Regions from separate parts of the Homo sapiens genome. Here regions 1 and 3 are each linked to region 2. Evidence: promoter capture Hi-C in 16 types of primary human blood cells and fetal thymus (Javierre and others, 2016). All regions are on one chromosome and are shown on one strand. The core of a region is centred on a gene start or on the middle of the fragment in contact, and the rest is flanking DNA. Distances in the headings are between cores, read along the strand shown. Region 1 holds the start of UBA1 (ubiquitin like modifier activating enzyme 1). Region 2 holds the start of ZNF41 (zinc finger protein 41). Region 3 has its middle 4.3 kb from the start of NDUFB11.

Evidence for each region. Contacts are between HindIII fragments. The CHiCAGO score rates a contact against its expected background, and 5 or more counts as called.
Region 1: a contact is called between a fragment that was not itself captured here and the fragment with the promoter of ZNF41 in region 2, in 17 of 17 cell types (fetal thymus, naive CD4 T cells, non-activated CD4 T cells and 14 more). The highest score is 18.4, in fetal thymus.
Region 3: a fragment that was not itself captured here is called in contact with the fragment with the promoter of ZNF41 in region 2 in 2 of 17 cell types (non-activated CD4 T cells and monocytes); the score reaches 5.5 in non-activated CD4 T cells.

Annotation. Positions count from the first base shown.
Region 1 is chrX:47,192,200-47,195,743 of GRCh38, forward strand. It overlaps UBA1 (ubiquitin like modifier activating enzyme 1), which reads left to right and starts at 1,630. Exons shown (of 26, transcript NM_003334.4): 1 at 1,630-1,825. RefSeq lists silencers at 1,470-1,658, 1,753-1,902 and an enhancer at 1,533-1,712. The HindIII fragment of the contact is 5,053 bases long and covers 1-3,544 here.
Region 2 is chrX:47,481,794-47,485,537 of GRCh38, forward strand. It overlaps ZNF41 (zinc finger protein 41), which reads right to left and starts at 1,429. Exons shown (of 5, transcript NM_001324144.2): 1 at 1,302-1,429. It overlaps LINC01560 (long intergenic non-protein coding RNA 1560), which reads left to right and starts at 923. Exons shown (of 1, transcript NR_126059.1): 1 at 923-3,434. RefSeq lists an enhancer at 864-1,163 and a silencer at 1,154-1,443. The HindIII fragment of the contact is 4,892 bases long and covers 1-2,282 here.
Region 3 is chrX:47,138,586-47,142,172 of GRCh38, forward strand. No RefSeq gene overlaps it. Among named protein-coding and RNA genes, the nearest start is that of NDUFB11, 4.3 kb to the right of the region's middle. The HindIII fragment of the contact is 2,475 bases long and covers 1,101-3,575 here.

The DNA.
Region 1 (3,544 bases), core at 342-2,841, 290 kb before region 2:
AATTGGGGTCTAGTTCCGCAATCTGTAGTCTTAACCAGATGCCATAATGTCTCCCCTCCCCATTCCCCTGCGCCGCCATTTGATAGTACTACTACTACTAATATAACACTTAGCATGTGCCAGGCACTGGTCTAAGCCCTTTCTACTTATTTCTTCATTTAAACTCCATCGCAAGGTAAGTTGCTGTTATTCCTATTTTATGGATGGGGAAGCAGTGGCCCAAGTTGGGGGTTTCTCTAGTGGCTGAGTATTCATAACTAATTTTATATTAATGTAAATATATATTTACATATCTTAACATATTACTTTTATATTAATATATAATATTTTAAAAATTTAACAGTGCCTTGTGCCAGCAATGTTCTAAGGCTCATCCCATAATTTATATTCTCTGATTTTCTTTTGTTTGAGACGGAGTTTCTCTCTTGTCGCCCAAGCTGGAGTGCAATGGCGCGATCTCGGCTGACTGCAACCTCTGCTTCCCGAGTTCAAGCGATTCTCCTGCCTCAGCCTCCCCAGTAGCTGGGATTACAGGCGCCCGCCAACATGCCCAGCTAATTTTTGTATTTTTAGTAGAGACAGGGTTTCACCATCTTGGCCAGGCTGGTCTCCAATTCCTGACCTCAGGTGATCCACCCGCCTCGGCCTCCTAAAGTGCTGGGATTACAGGCGTCATCTGATTTTCATAATAACACATTACTATCCTCATTTTACAGTTGTGGAAACTGAGGCACCTGCCAAAGACATGTAGTGAGTTTGGGTTTGATTGGACCAAGGCAGCCCTTGTTCCTGAGGCGGGGAGAATGGAGGGAGGCGTGGAGAGGGGAGGTGGGGGCAGGGAGTACACGTCCCCTGGGTTTTCTGGTGGCACTGCAGTGACATCTTTCATTATTCATGAACAGGAAGGCGTGCTCACTTTGCCTTGGCTATAGCATCGTAATCCCTATTTGCTGGGCAGGGCAGTCTTGGGTGTTTCTTCGCCTTATGCATAATTCATAAATTGGGTGGAACCTTTCTTGACCTCTCTGAGTTTCCAGGTTGAGCTACTGCAGCAGCATAATTCATTATTCAGGACCTGGGAGAGTGTGTTTTCCCTGCAGCAGCCCCATTTCCCTGCTTACAGTGTATTAGATGCAGCAATAGGCGGGCGTGCCCCTTTTATTCCAACCCACTGGGCCTCATGCATTATTCATGAGTAAGTTGTGGCCTGGGTCTCCTTGGCTTCCGGGCCCCTGCAAGATCATCATTATTCATGAATGGGGGTGTGTGGCTTCCATGTTTTAACATCTGCTTTCTGGTTGCTGGTTGTTAGTCTACCAACCACTCAACTTCATGCATAACTTATAATCAGGAAGCATGGCCTTAACGGTTTTTCTTCGCTTCCTTGACAGCCTGGCTGCAACAATTCATTCATTAGTCGCATTCCATGAGGCGTGGCCTCTGTTTTACCTGTTTTCGTTGTTACTGCCACAATGTCCACCAGGTGGTGCTGTTCCACTTCTAACCGAATGAATCGCAACCGAGTAGGGAACTTTATGCATGATTCATAAGTAGGCGCGGCCCGCTTGCATCCGGGTTTCTGGGGGTGGGGCCCAAGGTTTTGTTCCGGCCCCAGGCTCAGCGTCCGCCATCTTGTGTCGGCGGCTCGGCTGTAAGGAGGTGGCAGGGACAACCACAACCACAACGGCCGGGGGAGGAGAAGGCGGCAGCGGCGATTCTAGGCGGCCCAGGCGGCGGGGAGGAGGAGAAGGAGGAGGGTGGCGGCCGGGCTTGGCTTCGGCTCCTTGAGGAGTTGGCGGCGGCGCGACCCGGGGAACCGGCATTGGTAAAAAAACGTCCTTTCACTGCGCCTCGCCCTGGGCAGGGGTTTCGGGGAGGCACTGGAGGGCCCTGAGCCACGCTGCTGTCGGGGCGGGCCGCGGTGACTCGGGAGCCAGGAATCAGCGGAGTAGGGAGGGGGAGCGGATCCTGGGGCGGGGCCGACTTTCCCCGGCCAGGACCACTCCGGCTCCCTCTGGTTGCAAAATCTGACCTTGGAGTCGGACCCCCAGGATGTGCTTTTAGAGACTCACGCCCAACATCTCTAGTCTGGGACCTGACTCCGTCCCGAACCTTGTATCTCAGATCAGAACTCTTCCCCAGTCTCCAATAGAGATTTACGTGGATCAGCATTGCTGATCAGAGCTCCTCACCATTGAATGCCGTTAAAGACCTGCCCCAGAATCTCCTTTGAGACACTTCCTAGCTTCTCAGTATTTGTCCTCAAGGCTTCCAGGACGGGCTAGATCTCGAAGGGGTCCATAGGCCCTTTATCTCTGTAAGAGAGTCCTCTTTAGCATTTTCCTTCAGACCCCCATCCCACACACATGCTAGCCGCGCTCAGAGCTTCCAGGGGTACTAGACCCTGTGAAAGGCCATTTGGGCCTGGCCTTTGTGTCGGGGGCCCCTCTTCGCCACACGTCAGGTCTCCTAACCCCACCCTGGCCCTAGCATCTTCCATCAGAGACTCTGCCCAGTATTTCTACTCAGAGACCCCTCTTACCATCTGCCTTGAGAGACTCTTCAATTCCTAGACTCTGTCCTTTGACACTTTCTCTACTTTTATGGAATTTCTCGCTTTTTATACTTCCAGTATTCAGAGACTACTGAGAGGCCTCAGCATCTTCCCCATCAGGCACCTTGAACCCCCAGAGCCTTCCAGTGCACCAGATACCAGGGAGGAACTGTTTGGATACATAATCCTCCATCAAAGAGCCCCTGCGAGCATCTGCTCTTGCAGATCCCGTTGGCTTCTAGCCCCTTCCATCAGAGACTCGCCTCCCCAACCCCACCCTAGACCCAGCCTCTGCCTTCAAAAACCAACCTGGGTTCTAGCTGCTTTTTTCACAGATCCCTTATCCTCACATCAGGCCTCAGAATCTGCCCTCAGATCGTTTCAAGGTCCCTAACGTCTGCAGTCAGGGGTTTTCAGCTTCTGCTTTCAGCCTCCTTGGACCCCAGGATCATTGTCAGATGTCCCTTCCCCCCACAGGCCTTCTTGTTTTCTTTTTCTTTTTCTTTTTTCCGAGACAGAATTGTTTCACTATGTCGTCCAGGCTGGAGTGCAGTGGCGCCATCTCAGCTCACTGCAACCTCCACCTCCTGGGTTCAAGCGATTCTCCTGCCTCAGCCTCCCGAGTAGCTGGGATTACAGGCATGCACCACCACGCCTGGCTAATTTTTTGTATTTTTAGTAGAGATGGGGTTTCACCATATTGCCCAGGCTGGTCTCGAACTCCTGACCTCAGGTGATCCACCTGCCTCGGCCTCCCAAAGTGCTGGGATTGCAGGCGTGAGCCACCGCGCCTGGCCATGGCCCTCTTGTTTTCTACTGCAGTAGAAAACCCTCTTCTCAGCATCTACCTTCAGCGCCTCCATGGGGTCCTACATAATTGGTCAGAGAAACCCAACCCCATTTGGGGACCTAGCCAGTGTTTGCTTATTAACCTTTTTAAGGCCTGCACTATCTGGGCCCAGCTTCCCGTTTCCACACCCTCAGAGCAGC
Region 2 (3,744 bases), core at 179-2,678:
TAAAAATGAGAACAAAATTAAAAAACAGAAAAGAAATAACGAAGTTAAGGGCAGATATTAATGACAGAGAAACAAAGATACAGGAGGACCAACAAAGTCAAAAGTAGGTTTTGAAATAACCTCATCTCAGACCTAAAGACCACCTATCACTGACCCCAGGAAGCTGCATATCTGATTCCACAGCCCCCCATCACTAGTCCCAAAGAAACGCATCACTCACCCAGCAGGAACCTTGGTCAATCACCCAATAAACCCCATCCCACACCTCACAGACCTCCAGTAGTCACCCCGCACAGCCCTTTCTTACCCCCACGGACTTCTCATCACTCATCTCACATATACCTTATCACTCACCCTAGAGACCCTGTATCACTCACCCCACAGACCCCCTTATTATTCACTCCGGTGTCCCCAACACTCATCCCACAGGCTACCCATCAACTTTCTCTAGTGACCCATCACTCACCCACAAACCCCAATCACTCATTCTGCACCTCCCTATAAATGACCCCAGAGAAGCCTCCTTACTCATCCTACTGAGCATCTTCGAGTACAAAATCCATGTCATAACATCCCCATAATTATCTTAATGCTTGATCCATGTCATAACATCTCCATATTTATCTCAATGCTTAAGTGGCCCTAAGTCCGTCTGTTAAACTCACTCCCAGAGCCTTAAGTCCTGAAAACTGCTTCGAGGAACCCCGGCGCTTCTGGACTTGATCTGCACATGCTTAGTGTCAGCTCCGAAGCGGCCGCTCGCCCACAATTACACCTGGTGGGTGCCCTTACACCGCGCCGGTGCGTGCGTGCGCGTGCGCGTGTGCGTCGAAGGAGAGGCGGGCTTTCCAATTTCCTTCAGTGACTCTCAGGCAAGGAACATGGCTGTCTCCTTGGGAGTGTCTCTACGGGAGCCGCCATCTTGGAAGGGCGGTCATTTCTGCCGCGGAGCCCGCGGTCCCCTACTCGATATACCCCTGTGGGATTTTCCAGTGGCCGAGGCACTGGGCCATGGAATGTACCACCAGGCTTCTCCCCTCCGCCGCAGCCTCTAGGAGTTAGTCACCTCCGAGGCCCCGGCGGGCGAGGCGCTTTGCCTCTTCCGCCCTCAGGGTGCCCTCGGCCTCAGGCCGTCCCTACCGGGGAGCCTCCGCCTCTTTAAATATCGCCCAGCCCCCACCCCCAGGAGCAGGTCGCGAGACGCACCCGCCCCCGCCCCTGCCGCCGCACTGCTCTGTGGGACGCGGCGACCCCTCTCCCGCGGCGGCCGGGACCCCGCGCCCACCGCGTCTGGAGCCCACCTGGCGGCCCCACTGGCTACATTTCCGACCTGGACCCCGGCCGGCTGCGGGAAACACTCGGCGTCTCGGCTGTCACCGAACCTGTGCAGTTGCCGCGGGGGGAGTCGTGCGTGTCAGATTTAGGCCAGGAAGCGGAAGTCGCCAGCAGCGAGAGTTTAACCTCTGTGGGCGCAGAGGGTTGCGGGGATTCAGCGCCCGGGACCGTGGATCTGTGCAGGGAGTCATAGGTGTGTGTGACATCAGTGGTGGAACATTTTGGCTCGTTTTCACAATTCAGTCATTATCCTTTCTGCTTTCCTCCTGGAAGCATTAAGGTTGAAGTTTTCTTCTAAAGATCAAAGTTTTGATTTGTTATATTAGTTCGGATTTGTTTGATTTTTGTTTGTGTTCGGTTTCAAGTGCTGATTTGTAACTTTTCTCCCCCCCCCACACACGCCTTTTGACCCCTGAATTATTTAAAAGTCCATTGTTGGAGTGGCAAACATCCTCCGAGACTCAAAGGGCAAGGCCATGGGCGCTTTATTCCGGCTGCTGCTCCAGGAACGTGGGAAAGCAGCGGAGTTTTATTCTAGGGGAAGGAAACAAAGGCGGCCGAGTGCCAGCTGCACGTTTGGTGGGATTTGGTCATCAGGGGTGGACATGCTGCCCAATGGAGCTGTCGGCAGTTTGACCCAGCTTGGTCCGTCGCGTCCTGTTCTAGGAATCGATTATTCAAAGAAGGAATTTAGAGGGACTGCAGAAAATGTTACAGGTCTTAACACCATTTTGCATTTCCGCAAACGAACAAGAAGTTAATCCCTGTGTTAGTGATTTCTAAGCCCATTTGCCTTGTGGCCCAAGAACGTTGAGTTTGAAATTTGATGAAACTTGCCTTAAGGCTCAAGTACGAGGCCAGCTTTCAAAAATGGTTTTGTGCCTTGATTGAAAACACTGTATCTTCTAGTTGTTGGATTTATCGTACTCTGCGGCTCTATTGGTTCAAGCTTGTGCGTTGGGCCTTTTAAAATGTGTGTTTCCTGATAATTCCCTTCAGCTTGTCAACTGGGGGTGATGTGGCAGGGAGAAAGAGAGAGAGGAGAGAGAGAGACTGTACTGGCAGGTTTTCCTTGTGCTATTCAATTTTTGCTTCCTATGTTTTGAAGTTTTATTATTAACTGCAGGTTTCATTACTGAATAGATATAGCCAAATTCCTTCCCCCAAAAGATTATAAAGTTTCCTAGTCCTACCAGCAAAATCATTAAGTTCATTAAGGCAAATCCCCTCCAGCGCTGGATGTTGATGCTGTCTTTAATTTTGTATTTTTCTGACTACTTTGTGCAATTGAGGATTGTTTTGGTCTATTGGCCATTTGGCTTTTCTCTTTTGCAAATGTTCATATCCTTTGTCCAGTTTTCTTTAGGGTGATTTTTCCTTTTCGTATCAATTTGTAAACAGTGTACAAATTACATTGTACATTAGGGATATTAACAGTCTGTCAGTTACACTGTACATTAGGGATATTACATTAGAGATATTAACATCTTTGTCCATTAAGGATATTAACCATCTGTCAGTTACATTGCAGTATTTTTCCCTAAACTCTTTTTGTCTTTTGCATTTTATGTTTTTTTAAATGTGCAATTAGAAAAATTTTATATGGGCTGGGCACAGTAATCCCAGCACCCATCTCTACTAAAAATAAAAAAAAAAATAGCCAGGCGTGGTATCTCAACTAAAAAAAAAAAAAAAAATTGCCGGGCATGGTGTTGGGCGCTTGTAATCCCAGCTACTCGGGAGGTTGAGGCAGGAGAATCGCTTGAACTTGGGAAGTGGAGATTGCAGTGAGCTGAGCTCGGGCCACTGCACTCCAGCCTGGGTGATAGAGCAAGACTTCATCTCAAAAAAAAAAAAGAAAGAAAAATTGTATGTGTAATATGTAACTAGTGAAATGTAGCCTCTGATCAGATATGTCTAAACTTTCTTTTATGGCTTTTGTATATCCCATCTTGCCTAGTTTCACTTCCCTATTCCAGATAGAAAGATAATCTTAACATGTATTTCAGTGTTTTTATTGCTTTAATTTTTTCTACTTTAATCTAGTTGGAATTTACTCTGGTATATGGTATGAAATCAAGATCAAGCTTGAACAAGAAGCCTGTGTCACACTTTTTTCTGTGTCAAATAAAAAGAGACTTTAATTAGAAAGACAGACTATTGCAAAAGGGAGAATGCTCCCATCTCAGAAACCTGAGAGCATCTTGAAACCAAACAGAAAAAGGCTTTTCTTGTAGAGGGTAAGGAGGCAGGCAGAGATAAGCAGAATCTGTGGAAAGGAAGCTGCACAAACAAGGGGGAATGGCCAGTGGGGTCTGCCAGGAAATTGTCCCACAGTGGTGCGCCCATTCCCAGGAGAAGCTGAGAAGCAGGGTCCATTGGGAGGGGAGGAATTTCGACTTTTTTTGA
Region 3 (3,587 bases), core at 1,088-3,587, 340 kb before region 2:
ATGCCACTGCATTCCAGCCTGGGCAACAGAGTGAGACCCTGTCTCAAGAAAAGAAAAAAAAAAAGGTTAGTCATCCGCCAGAATGGCTGCAGTGAAAAAGATGGGAAATGCCGAATGATGGGGAGTCAACTCTGGGAAAGTGTAGATTGGAAAATTGGCATGATTTACTGAAGCTGATTGGTCACATGTCTACGCAATGACTTAGCAATTCCATTCCTAGGTTATATACCCAAGAAATGAGTACATATGTCTATCAAAAGATGTGTACAAGAATGTTCACAGAATTATTCTTAGCCAGGCACAGTGGCTCATGCTTGTAATCCCAGCACTCTGGGAGGCCAAGGTAGGTGGATCACTTAAGATCAGGGGTTTGAGATCAGCCTGGCCAACCTGGTGAAACACTGTCTCTACTAAAAATACAAAAATTAGCTGGGCCTGGTGGGTCACGCCTATAACCCCAGCTACTCGGGAGGCTGAGGCATGAGAATCACTCCAACCCAGGGAGGTGGAGGTTGCAGTGAGCCAAGATCGCACCACTGCACTCCAGCCTGAGCGACAGAGCAAGACTCTGTCTCAAAAGAAAAAAAAATTCTTAATAGCCCCAAATATAAAACAACTCAAATGCTCAGCAACGTAAGAATGGCTAAAGTCTGGTCTGTTCATACAATGAAATGGAATACAGCAATGAGGATGAACAAACTACTCATGTATGTGACGATGTTGATCAGTCTCACAAACGTTGTACAGAATGAAAGAAACTGGACACAAAACCAGACCAAAGTAACCTAACATTGTTAGAAGTCAGGAGAGTGGCTACCTTTGGTGGGGAAGAGGGAAGACCTGAAGGGAGCTTCTGGGGTTTGCCATGTTGTGATTTTTGTTTGTCTTTTTGTTTTTGAGACAGGGTCTCGCTCTGTGGCCCAGGCTGGAGTGTAGTGGCACGGTGCGATCTCGGCTCACTGCAACCTCTGCCTCCTAGGCTCAAGCGATCCTCCCACCTCAGCACCCTTACTAGCTGGGACCATCATGCCTCGCTAATTTTTGTATTTTTTGTAGAGACGAGGTTTCACCATGTTGCCCAGGCTAGTCTCAAACTCCCAAGCTTGAGACACCAGTCTGCCTCTGCCTCTCAAAGTATGTTTCTTGACCTGAGTGCTGGTTATATGGGTGTGCCCAATTTATAAAAAGTAAATGAGCTTTGTGAGCTTTTCTGCATGTGTATTTTAATTCAATGATTTATAAAGAGTCAGTCAGTGTGGCTGGGCCATGATGAGGGAGGGGAAGGTAGTATTGTCAGAATGGGGCCAGGGCTCGGATTTTAGGATTAAGTCTAAGTGCAGCCTTCTGTTTGACCAGAATGGAGGCTTCTGGAGAGCCCTGGAGCTTGATGAGGCAGAGCAGAAGGGAATGAGAAGTGTTCATCCTCAGGGGGGTAAGCCAGAAGGCAAGGATGGGTATGGGATGTCACCTACACAGGAGGTATCAATACCAAATGTTTATCAAGCACATACCATGCCAGTCACTGCTCTAAGTGAACAGAACATATGTGAATACCTGCCCTTCTGGAATTTACATCCTGGTGGGTGGTGAGTGGAGAGAATGTGCTCTCTAGGCACCAGGCTGAGGCTTATTATAGGGGTTATTGCACCAATATACCCAGGTACTTGGTGGCTGGGGTAACATGCCCCTTTCACTTCCATAGTCCCACTAACTGCAGGGGGAGGGTAGAGAGTGCTCCCTTTATACATTAGTACTCTCTGCTTTGGGGTACACTCGAGTTGGGAGACTGGCCCCACAAAGCAGCACTGGGGCAGGGGAAGCCCTCAGGGTCTTCCTCACTTGCAGGAAGGCTCATGCAGATATGGCTCCCGCCTCAGCCACATGTAAGTGGATTTGGGTTCTCCTGAGACCCAGTAGCTAGAAGTAGGGCATTGCCTCTAGTGGTGAATTTGGCAAGCCAGATTTTCTTCCTGTAGCCAGTGGCTGGAGGCTCCCACACCCTCCAAAGCCCCAGGCAGGGACAAGCACAGAGATGGTAGCAATGAATATATGAGGTGGTGATTTGAATGTGGGAGCTGTGGAAGGAAGAGATGCCAAGAGGGTGAAGGGAAGCCCACACTTAACAGAGATGCTTTTGAAAGAAACAAACTCAGCCAGGGCCAGAACAAGTCCCCTACTCCATCTGCCAGACTGAGAGACAGCAACCCTGGTGCAAGGAGACAGCCTATTTCCACAGAGGAAGAAAGTAAGGGAGAAAAGACTTCTTGATTTCGAGACACAGAAAGACAAAGAGAGGAAAGGGGGTGAGGAGAGAAACAGACACACGTGCACACACATACACACACACAGATGCATATCTTGAGTTAGAGGTCATCCAGATTTGGGGCAGAAGGGAATACAGGCATCCAGACTCACCAACACACAGGACAGGGGCAAACCCTAAAGCCCAGAGAGAAGCAGAGAGGACAGGGAGGGGAGACAAAACACCCACCCTTAGAAAGAGAAAGCCCTGCACTCACCCTCCACCTTAATCCCTGGTCTCCCTGGCTTCTCTTCAAACGTAGGAGGTCCCAGTGAGGTGGTCTGGCTCTAAAGATAGCTGCCAACAATTTCTTCCCATGTGCCACGCTGTCATCCAGAGGAGCCCCAAGCCGTCATGTAAGAAGCTGAGGTTAGGCTGGGCACAGTGGCTCATGCCTGTAATCCCAGCACTTTGGGAGACCGAGGCAGGTGGATGACCTACGGTCAGGAGTTCTAAACCAGCCTGGCCAACATGGTGAAACCCCATCTCTACTAAAAATAGAAAAATTAGCTGGGCATGGGGCGGGCGCCTGTAATCCCAGCTACTCGGGAGGCTGAGGCAGGAGAATTGCTTGAACCTCGGAGGCAGAGGTTGCAGTGAGCCGAGATGGTGCCACTGCATTCCAGCCTGGGTGATAAGAGTGAAACTCCTTCTTAAAAAAAAAAAAAAAAAGGCTGGGTACGGTGGCTCACACCGCTAATCCCAGCACTTTGGGAGGCCGAGGCGGGCGGATCACGAGGTCAGGAGATTGAGACCATCCTGGCCAACATGGTGAAACCCTGTCTCCACTAAAAATACAAAAATTAGCCAGGTATGGTGGCGGGCACCTGTAGTCCCAGCTACTCTGGAGGCTGAGGCAGGAGAATCGCTTGAACCCGGGAGGTGGAGATTGCAGTGAGCAGAGATTGTGCCACTGCACTCTAGCCTGGGTGACAGAGCAAGGCTCCATCTCAAAAAAAAAAAAAAAAAAAAAGTCAAGGCTGTTCTGCTGGAGAGAGGCCATATGGAAGAGGACTGAAGTGCCAGACATGTGAGTGAAGAAGCCATCTTAGATACCCAGCCCAGTTGAGCCTTCAGATGACTCCAGTCCCAGCCACCATCTAACTACAACTACCTGAGACCCCTAGAAGAGCCACCTTACTGAGCCCAGTCAACCCACAGGGCCATGAAAGAGAAGACTGAATTGTGGTTTTAAGCCACTAAGTTTTTAGGTGTTTGCTACACAGCAATATACAGCCAGAACACCCAGGGAAGGTTGCAGCAGCCCTTTTAAAGCTTTTGACAC